3 separate regions of the Homo sapiens genome follow, and regions 2 and 3 are each linked to region 1. The links are contacts of gene promoters, found by promoter capture Hi-C in human tissues and cell types (Jung and others, 2019). All regions are on one chromosome and are shown on one strand. Each heading gives the region's core, a stretch centred on a gene start or on the middle of the fragment in contact. The rest is flanking DNA. Distances are from core to core; before and after follow the strand shown.

Region 1 (3,394 bases), core at 321-2,820:
TGAGGCTTCCTAGACCTTGTCATAGCTTTCCTTCTAGAGAGCTGGATTTAACCCTTGGCAGTGGACGATCTCTTGGAACCTGACGCCATTTCCTGCTTACTCCCGAGCATTGTTTCCTCTCTGGACCTCCTCCTTGCTTAGCCTTCATCAGGCTGGATGGATCTCTCCATCAGAACTTGCCAAAACCAAGCCCAAACTTTCATGCTTTTTAATATTGTGCCCTTGATGTGGTCGACTTATGGGTGGTACACCGGACATCCAGGTTACTGCTCAGATTACAATTTCAACTCACCCATAGACAATTTACAGATTGATTTGGCTAAATGTTATGGAAACAGAACCAAAAGGCACTTTTCTGTCTTTATTACTATTTCTTAAGGTGATGTGTATGTGGAGTTAACTATATATAATGGTCCCATAATTACCCTTTTGGGAAACAAAAGTCTTTGTGTGTTTTTAGATAAAGGTAGCAAAATGGAAACTCCCTATTGCTTTTCTAAGCACGCCTTCCTTTGCACCCCCATCTTCTGTGGCTGTTTTAGCCAGAAATGATACATCATTACTGTCTTTAAGGAGATGGAGAGGACTGTGGCTTTAACACATAGTGGAGGGAGCTCTGTAGTCTCATTCTTGCTGACAACTTTTCAGTGTCAACCAACTATAGTTTCCTATTGGTGAAGTTTTCACTTTTTCAGAGTCTTTCTGGGCTTGTTCTTTGATCACCCTCATCTGAAGAGGAAGCAGGAAAGAACTGTTGCCCTCTTTGAACTCTTAGAGAATTCATGGTTTATTGTATCAATTTGTTATCGACCACAGATTATCTTGTTAACTTTTGGTATCTGTCATTTTATTCTCCCCAACCAGGTGGAAATGTACCCTGTTTAGGCCCAGGACCTACCTTAGCAACCTTGATTGGCTCACAAGCCAGGTTGCTTAAGACTTGTTTCCCCAGCAGCTGGTGTCCCTACTTCCTGCCTAGCCCTTTTCCTTTTGCTTTGTCTGTGCTTGGGAAATACATGTTATACTCTGTAGAGCAGATTTGCTGGCAGTAAGAACAGAGATGTGTAGAGCCCAGCGTGCTGGAGGGCTCTCTGCATCTGGCTGTGAGTGGCCCCTGGACTGGGACCGTGGGAGGACAGCTTTCCATAGTTTAACATAAATGAACCACACCATAAGGACAATCTGCTCTCATTTCACTCAACTAGGATTTAGTGAGTACTGTTAAAGCACAGTTTGCACTGGAGTAATTGGAGAATGGAGTTTGCCCTTCACAATCTGTGCACAATCTGTTAGCAGCTAAAAACAAATGTTAGCAGTTATAATTACCATCAATTTGTCTCCAGGCTTGGATCACATTCCAGGTGTTAGAAGAGATGGTCCATTTCCTTTTTTTTCTCCTTTAAGTCCCATGCCCTGTTTCAAGTAGCTTCAGAAGGCAATTGTGCTGTAAAGATTCACCTTGTAATGGGTTCAGGACTCTTTCACAGTTTGTGTCTATTCGTTCATTTGAACTTTGCTGTTCCAAGTTAGAAAGCCCTTGCTGAGGTGTGGCTACCTCTAAGAACACTGTTGATTGGGTGCCATGGTAACGTTTGCAAAGTAGCTACTGCTAGGATACAGCTCTGACACTTATTACTTTATTTGCATATCAAGCCACCTGTTCCAAAGATGAAAATATACAGGACTGCATATCCCAGTCTGGGTAAAAGGATAATAGCTGACTGTTGAAGAGAACATGTTGCAGTTTTTCTCCTGCTAGCTGAAGAATCAAGTTCTGAGGGCCTGCTCCTCAGCACCTTTCTCCTGGTCTAGAGTAGGTGCCAGGCCTGGCGGTTCTGTTGCCTGCGTGGGTGCCAGGGCTTCTCCTTGGGAGGCTTGCCCTCTGTGAGAGGGAGCAGAGAGTTGACTTCCTCCAAGAGGCCCATAGTCCCTGAAGGGGGTGTTTTTGATTCTGTCTAAACCTAGGCTATGTGTTAGCGGTTTCCCTCCTCTTAGAAATTGCCTGGAAGACTCTTGCTATTGGTATGTATGTGGTTCCCTCCAGTTTAAGACAAGATTTGTTCCAGGATCGGTTGTAGCCCCTTCTCTGTGGCTAACGGAAGAGCCACTTGTCCTTCTCCATTCTTTTCCTTAGTCTCCCTTGACCCCCACATCATCTCCTAGACACAAGGCACATTGATAGTCACAATTCACTGTCAATCACTCTGGATTATTCCCTCATTCCCCTTTCCCAGGCCACCTGAAGGAGTGAGTGGGGATTGCTATTGTGTACATTCCAGTAATAACTATTGGCTGTAAGCAGACATACTCTAAAAATAACTCAGGGATACTGAGCACCCAGAGGGCACCTTCTGTCTTCTCGAAGCTTCGCCACGCCTGTTTCCACTGTCAGACTTCCAGTCTGCACCACAGCACACATCCTTTCTCATCCAGAGTGCTCCTACTAGACGAGATGTTTTTGTCTCCTAAGGGCCTCAGGTGTATTCATGAACTCCTCAGCTGGTTATTTTCAGTTTCATCTTCCTTGGTGCTTGCTCTGGCACATGGTCACTGCTGCATCCTGTCCCTTCCCCACAGTTTGCCATGGGTCATCCCTTTTTTCTCATTGCTTGCATCTTCTAACTGAATGAACTTGTAAATATGGAACTGAAAGTCAATCCTCATAGCTCATCTTTTATTTAATCCTAATAAATGACAATCTATTGCAAACATTACTTTAAAAATATTACTTATCAAAAGCTGGGTGAAAGGATAATAGCTGACTGTTGAAGAGAACATGTTGGGGTTTTTCTCCCGCTAGCTGAAGAATCAAGTTCTGAGGGCCTGCTCAGTTCTGTAAGAAAGTATTAGCTGTCTGACAGGTTCCAGTGAGGGGAGGAAAAGACAAAAAATATAGTCCCCAAATCTGCACCAGCATCCCATGTGCACTGTGCACCTTCCATGGTGGATTAGATGCTCAGCAAATGATATACCTATGGAAGGTTAAGCCTAAAGAAACAGGAAAAATGAGCCTTTGTCCACTAGCACATTTATCAATTGCATTTTAGGGTGATTTTAGGGATAGGCAACCCCAATTAGTCATTATTCTTTAAAGGTAGTTGTCTGTTAGATGTAGGAAGACTCCAAGGAATGTTAAGTTGGCAACATTCCATTTAGGTTGCACAGAATGACTTTTAAGACTAAACTTCATCAGGAGGAAATGAAAGGCCTTTACCATGGTTCCTGTTCACAGTGAAATTGACATGTATTGGAAAGGAGATGCTTGGAAGAAATGTCTAGCTTCCCCAACAGACTCCTTTCTTCTCTTTTCTGTCTTCCTTTGTTAATCTGCCATGTTTCATCTTCATTCAGATGAGTTATGATGTATATTATTTATGTAGAGATATTATGAGAT
Region 2 (3,394 bases), core at 455-2,954, 180 kb after region 1:
TTACAGTCTAAGAATGGTTTTCTTAGAATTAATGTATAGCTTATGAAGAAGAAAACCTATTAAGAAAAAAAGCCAGTTTAGTGTATCTTTTCTTTTCTTTTTTTTTTAGACGGAGTTTTGCTCTTGTTGCCCAGGTTGGAGTGCAATGGCGCGATCTCAGGTCACTGCTACCTCCGCCTCTTGGGTTCAAGCGAGTCTCCTGCCTCAGCTTCCCGAGTAGCTGGGATTACAGGCACCCGCCATCACACCCAGCTAATTTTTTTTTTTTTGTATTTTTTTGTATTTTTAGTAGAGATGGGGTTTCTCCATGTTGGCCAGGATGATCTCGAACTCCTGACCTCAGGTGATCCACCCACCTAGGCCTTCCAAAGTGCGGGAATACAGGCGTGAGCCACTGCGCCCAGCCTTCAGTGTATGTTTCAAAGAGGTATACTCAGGATACACGCAACTGTTTTTCATAGAACTTTGCCCTAGGTTTGATCACCTAATAACATGCTTGAAAGACACCTGGTGGGTTTATCAGTAGCCAATTCTAGCAAGCCCATGATCTAGGAATATTATACGTGCCAAAAACAGTGCTGAGGGATAGAATACTTGCCAGAGACACTGCAGCCCAGAGGTTTGTGAGTCATAAAGCTACATCTTACATCTGAATTTATAAGTCCACATAGACTTTAAATATTTCATTTTGGAGGGGAAGGGATCAAACTAAACAACGTCATTATTACTTGAATTCCGAGATCCAGGGGAGTAATAATTTTATTGTCATTTTGGATAATGGGGCTTTGGTTTTTAACATTACAATAATAGGTAATCATAACAGTGGGAACTAAATGTTCCCATAGGAATCGCCTAGGTAGGGAAAGTGCAGAAGATTCCTTAATGTGGTATACGGAGTAAGAATCAAAAATTAATGACTTGACTTTAAAGTTTGGAAACATCAGTTAGTTGCTACCCTTCCCCGTACTCTCCCTGGAGGATTGGTGAAGGAGCACTTATAAATCTCACAAGGAGATAAAGCCCCATGGAGCTGTCTGTGGGATTTATGGCATGCTGGGAAAGCTTCTGGGCTGTGGGGAAGCCTCTCCATTCATAGCAGGCTTCATTCACAGAGAATATTAGGTCACACAGAAGCTCACTACCCCCTGCTGACCTTTACAGACAGAGATTGGTTGGGCTGCACAAAAACAGAATGGACTCAAGCAAGCCAGGGCACCTGTTAACCTGTGACCTTAGTTTATGAAGACCTTGGACATTTGAGGCTCTGAATGAGAGAAAAAGGAGGGAGCTATGAATTTTGGAAGTTCACTCTGGATACTAATTTGTATGTGACAATTTGTGATCTTATTTGGCAAATGCAACAGTGACTATTTTAATTCAAACTCCTCTCCCTCCGTGCAACTCTTAAATCCTTGAACTTCTCAAAATTGCATTGATGTATTCCTTTTATAAAGTAGGTAACGAAGTCATTGAAACTAAGTTTTTGCCCTAGGTCCGACAGTAAATTGGCTCCAAATGGAAATGCAACCTGTTAATTCATAACGCCTTAGTTCAGCAGTCCCCAACCTTTTGGCACCAGGGACTGGTTTTGTGGAAGACAGTTTTTCCATGAACGGGGGTTGAGGGGTGTTCGTTTCAGGATGAAACTGTTTCACCTCAGATCATCAGGCATTAGTTAGATTCCCATAAGAAGTGTACAACCTAGGTCCCTCGCATGTGCAGTTCACAATAGGCTTGGCGCTCCTATGAGAATCTAATGTCGCCGCTGATCTGACAGGAGGTGGAGCTCAGGCAGTAATGCTGGCTCACCTGCCACTCACCTGCTGCTGTGAGGCCCGGTTCCTAACAGGCCATAGACTGCTACTGGTCCATGGTGCAGGGGTTGGAGACCCTTGCTTTAGTTATTGGCATTCTGAGTTTCAAGCAGAAAAGTATCAGATGAAAGTGAAATTATTTTATTTGAAAAATGTGGTCGGCAAACTTCTTAAAATCCACTTAATATTTAAATTTGCTTTCTGGGAAACTTTGGAATCCTTAAAGGATGACCAGAATGTCAGAAATGGAGATTTGTGTTAGAGAAGATAGAATCTGTTATGGATTAATGTTGGACCAAGACTCCAGGAGTACTACTCTTTTTCAGGAGATGAGAAACACAGCTTCCTGTTTCCTTCAGGAGGGTTCCTGGACTCTATCTAGGAAACCCTACTGAGACAGGATGGCAAAGGGGGATGGGATTTCTGTGTGATAAAACACTAGCTATTGTTTGTTATTACAGCTCCCTTTACATCTTCCTGAGGATGAAGGATATTCATCATAGAAGCCTGACCACGTGGCTTCATTCTAACAAGTGGCTTCAAGCAAGGTCAACTCTTGGGGCTCGTGTAGTTTTTTCAGAGCACATTGGTTTGTCATACACATGCCCTTCTGCCTCTCCTGCCTCCACATTTCTACTTTCTTCATAGTTCAGAGGTGTAATTCCCTTCTTCTATCAGATAAAGATCATGGTGACAACACAAATACCTTAACTGGAACGTACACAGAAAGAAAATGTCTCAGCCAGTGTGAAGGTGTCTCTTGACACTGACACAATCTGAGAGGGACTTCTGGGCAGGGGTATGCTGATAAACTGGCCCTCCAAAATAAAAACCCTAATTTGTAGCATTGCTAATTTTCATGGCGTAAATAGTGTCACCATGTCTGAACTCACACTACCAACATGATGCCACTGAATGCAGAGGTGAGGAGTGTGCACATTTGGCTCGTGCAAGAGGTTCAAGCTGGCTCCAGCATACCGCTGTCTAAGCCTTGATATGTTTGTATAATTAGAGGGAAGGTACATATGTCAGCACATATGTGAATCTGGTGGTGAAGATTTCTTCTGGTTTCTCTGCCCAGAAATGCCATCATAGATCAGACGATGTATGAATTTGCCACATGTGCAAGTGCCTCTTCTGGTGCTGCCCATCTTTACTCTTGGAACCAGCTTAATTTTGGTACTCATCCAGATACCATCCTTAGCCTACTACTCTTCCTATTTTAATTGATGTAATTTCTACATATTTCCATCTTAGACCCTTCTCCCAACTTTTAGATTCTAACTGCCTGTTGGACTTACCATTGGCATGTAATTCAGTACCTAACCCACCAAAATCTGACTTCCTCCCCTCAATTTTCTTTCTTATAGGTGACACCATTACCTTTCCAGCCATCCACACTAGAAATCAGGTGAAGTTTCCAGATTCTTTATTTTCCTTCATTTTATTCTCTACATCCAATTGATCAGAAGTCTTGATGATCTTCTTTTTGATTATTTGATGGGAGGGTAAATGTGTCCCTCCCATCTGCCACCTTCTCCATTCCTATTATTGTACTAGTTAAAGCCCTTGCAGTTGCT
Region 3 (3,394 bases), core at 447-2,946, 160 kb after region 1:
GCGACAGGATCACTACTTGGGCAAATGTCAAACATGTGGAAGAATGAAGGGATTCTTGATCTGGAAGGAGAAGTAGTTCTCAGACCAGGCGGTGAGAGGCGACCCAAAAAGCCTTGAGAAAGAAAATAATGGTTGGCTGAATAGAGGGGGTGGAGTGTGATTTCACCTGGCTGGCCTTATTTTAGCCGATGGGCTTCAGAGTGTTGAAGATTTATGCACTTGCATCCCATCTTTAGCGGCTTGGAGTCTCTGAAAATTCAGAATATTTTGAGCAGCATTCAAAGGTGGAGTGTGAAGGAGGATAGGACACAAAATTGCACAGGGCCTCCTGTTAAGAGTAGTGGTAACGTGTGACTTGTAACTCCAGGGAGTTTAAGGCAGGATGGTGGCCCATGGCCGGCAGCAATCACTTCCTCTGCCATGAGTCTGCTGACACAGGCATTCATTGCTTTGGGCTTCCCCAGCTGCTTCAGCTCAGGCCTTTCCTGCTACTGTACTTTGGGCCAAGGTATCACCCATGAGGGCCAGAAATTGTTAATGACATCTGCAGGTGTGGTCTGGAAAGATAGGAGCTTTCCAGTGAGAACTAGAGGTCTTCACTTACCAAGTACCTACCTTACTCAGAATATGATTTTAAAATTAATTATGTATATCACTAGCAGACCTGATAGGGAAAGCAGAACTAGAGTTCTGACAAGTCATCACTTTGTTTTTGGTGGTTGTGTGTATGTATTTTATTTAAATGTGGCGTCCATGTGGTTTGGCCTCTAGCTATTTCAGAATGATTCACAACTTCTGAACCAGTTGTCTTCAAAAGGGTCATTACATTTTTTTGGTATCAGGTTATTCCTCTCTTTCTAATGAGACTGACTTTGCTTGGGTGACTGTTTTAGTTTTCAGCCATATACAACATTAGTTATGAGTAAGTCATTGGAAATGGAGGGGTTCACTCTGTAGGCCCCACATCTACAAACTGTCATGTATTTAGATGCTCAGAGTTATTTAGTAATCCCCACTGACTGTTCTCTTCACTAGACTTCACTTCTTTTCTTCTCTCTCCCTTCTCTCAGTGTTCTCAAATTTATACAGAGTTCAGAGTTAATTCACCCTGGATTCAACAGTAGATATGAAATACTGAGAAGGAGGATAATGTGAAAAGATTGGCTCTAGTTGATGGAGGAATCTGTCCCCCTCGCCCCCATTTCAACAAAGTGTGATTTACTGCTACCAGCCTACTCCTTTATTGCAAGTTCCTAGGGGCTCTCCAGCTCTAATCTACGTGTTTTCTTGTCTTAGGTGTCCTGTTGGGAAGTTCTGTTTTTGTCCTTGAAAATTCCAGACTTAATTAAATGTGACTCAACCCATTGAGCCATAGCAATTACAAACCTTTCTCTTTAGAACTGAGTGGCTTCCCCATGTTTGTTTTCCTGTATTCCAGTACCCTTTCAAAATTCTTCAAAGTAACTAGTTTCAGAGTTACTAGAGAGTGGGGTCAGGTGAGGAAATTATTGCAATATGACAACAACCTTCTGAGGAAGGTGGTGTTGTGATGATCTCTCTCTCTCTCTTTTTTTTTTTTTTAACATGAGGAGACTAATGCCCAGAGAGGTTAAATTGTTTGCCAGGGTCACACAGCTATGAAGTGGTAAACACCAGATTCAAATCCAGATGGTTGGCTCTTTGTTGTGAAGAATTTCCTGGGACCTTAAGGCTGTTTCCATAGTAGTAGAAAAGAACATTGGCTCAAAAGACTGAGGATGCTTTGGGTGTGCTTTTCCCTAATGTTGCAAGACTGGAGAGATGTAACTTTCTTTTCTTCATGTCTAGAATGATAACTTGAGCTGCAAATTGAGATATTTGTTGCGAAGCTATGATCTCACTGATAAACTCCCCATTTTGGAGGTTTAAAGCAGGGTGCATTGAAGATATGAAGATACGTATGAGGTTATGTAGCATGTGAGGATAGGCATAGCTTTGTTACGTGTCTGTAATGCTTATTCCAGATGCCTAAAAGATGGAACATAATTTTTGTATTTTCTAGTATTCAGATCTCAAAACATAATTAAGATTCAATTTTGGGGAGGAGAGCAAAATAATTACATATCCTCAGATGTGAAGTATTATACAGTCCAAAACATTTAGGTCATTCTTTTTTATTTTGTCTGTTAAATTCTGTGTTCAGTTGATCTTTTAAAGTAAAACTCTGTGTTTGGAAAACTACAACCAAGTATGTCCCAGGCCCAGTTTACTTGTACGTGCAGCTGCATCCTTGCCCATTGACGGTGAGATTATATTGGCAACTTTGAAAAACCAAATATTATTGAAATACTGACCCATTTTCCCTTTACAATAACATCTTTGGCTGGGATAATTTTACCCACCTATAATTCTCGAAGAAAAATGACTTCAATTATGTCACAAAATTTAAAAAATCTTAGGATTGGAAGAGACATTAAAGAGCAATTCCGAGCCTAGCACAGTGGCTCATTCTTGTAATCCCAGCACTTTGAGAGGCCAAGGCAGGCTAATTTGCTTGAGGCTGGGAGCTCAAGACCAGCCTGGGCAACATAGCAAGACCCTGTCTCTACTAAAAATAAAAATAAAATTAAAAAATTAGCTGAGTGTGGTGGTGTGTGCCTGTAGTCCCAGCTACTTGGGAGGCTGAGGTGGGAGGATCGCGTGAGCCAGGGTGGTCAAGGCTGTAGCGAGCCATGATTGCACCACTGCACTCTAGCCTGAGTGAGAGAGTGAGACTCTGTCTCTTAAAAAAAGAAGTAATTTCACCCAGACATTCACTTATCTTGTGATTTTTGGAAGAGCAAAGTGTCAAAACTTGTTATTTGTCTTTGGTCCCAGTGTTGTGGTTGTATATGGACAGTGAATAATATAGAAAAGAGTTAAGAAAATATCAGTATCCTCTGGAAGCAGGAAGTGTAACATTTCAGGATGAATACTCAAAGGGACAGAGGAAAAGAATTCAACTGTTTGGGAAGGGCTTTGGTGTCAGAAGTTCATGCTGTTGTCTTCAGAATATGACAGACTCAGGGTCCAAAAAACATGTCAGCCTAAGATAAGTTCCAAGTGAGGATATTTTTTTTACAAGCAAGATTGTGAGTGCTAGGTCACTTCTGCAAAATTTGTGGGCAGTGGAATGATCAGTGGTTAGTCACGTGGCTCTTCTTAGTCCTGTACTTCTGTGGTCATGCAGTCCTTGTGGTGGGGCACTGAGGCCTTTCTGCCCTGTGTCCAGTGTTTGTCACACCGTTTCCCACATAGGCTCTTGATAAATGTTTGTGGGACTGAGTTGAAATGCAAGATAGATGGGAGTCTGGTAAAGAGAGGGAAATAGAATGGAGAAAGTTGAATATATGTAGAAATAAAAGAACCTAGAAAC

What was found. The method cuts DNA at HindIII sites, captures the fragments that hold promoters and counts their contacts. A contact is called where the count stands out against the background at its distance.
Region 2: a contact is called between a fragment that was not itself captured here and the fragment with the promoter of APOBEC4 in region 1, in 3 of the 25 tissues and cell types used here (dorsolateral prefrontal cortex, hippocampus and mesenchymal stem cells).
Region 3: a contact is called between a fragment that was not itself captured here and the fragment with the promoter of APOBEC4 in region 1, in 1 of the 25 tissues and cell types used here (mesenchymal stem cells).

What each region holds. Positions count from the first base shown.
Region 1 is chr1:183,651,746-183,655,139 of GRCh38, forward strand. It overlaps APOBEC4 (apolipoprotein B mRNA editing enzyme catalytic polypeptide like 4), which reads right to left and starts at 1,571. Exons shown (of 2, transcript NM_203454.3): 1 at 1,327-1,571. It also overlaps a transcript of RGL1 not described here. The HindIII fragment of the contact is 3,396 bases long and covers 1-3,062 here.
Region 2 is chr1:183,836,162-183,839,555 of GRCh38, forward strand. The region is part of intron 2 of RGL1 (ral guanine nucleotide dissociation stimulator like 1); the gene reads left to right. Among named protein-coding and RNA genes, the nearest start is that of RGL1, 33 kb to the left of the region's middle. The HindIII fragment of the contact is 5,221 bases long and covers 1-3,394 here.
Region 3 is chr1:183,807,195-183,810,588 of GRCh38, forward strand. The region is part of intron 2 of RGL1 (ral guanine nucleotide dissociation stimulator like 1); the gene reads left to right. Among named protein-coding and RNA genes, the nearest start is that of RGL1, 3.8 kb to the left of the region's middle. RefSeq lists an enhancer at 349-398. The HindIII fragment of the contact is 5,243 bases long and covers 1-3,394 here.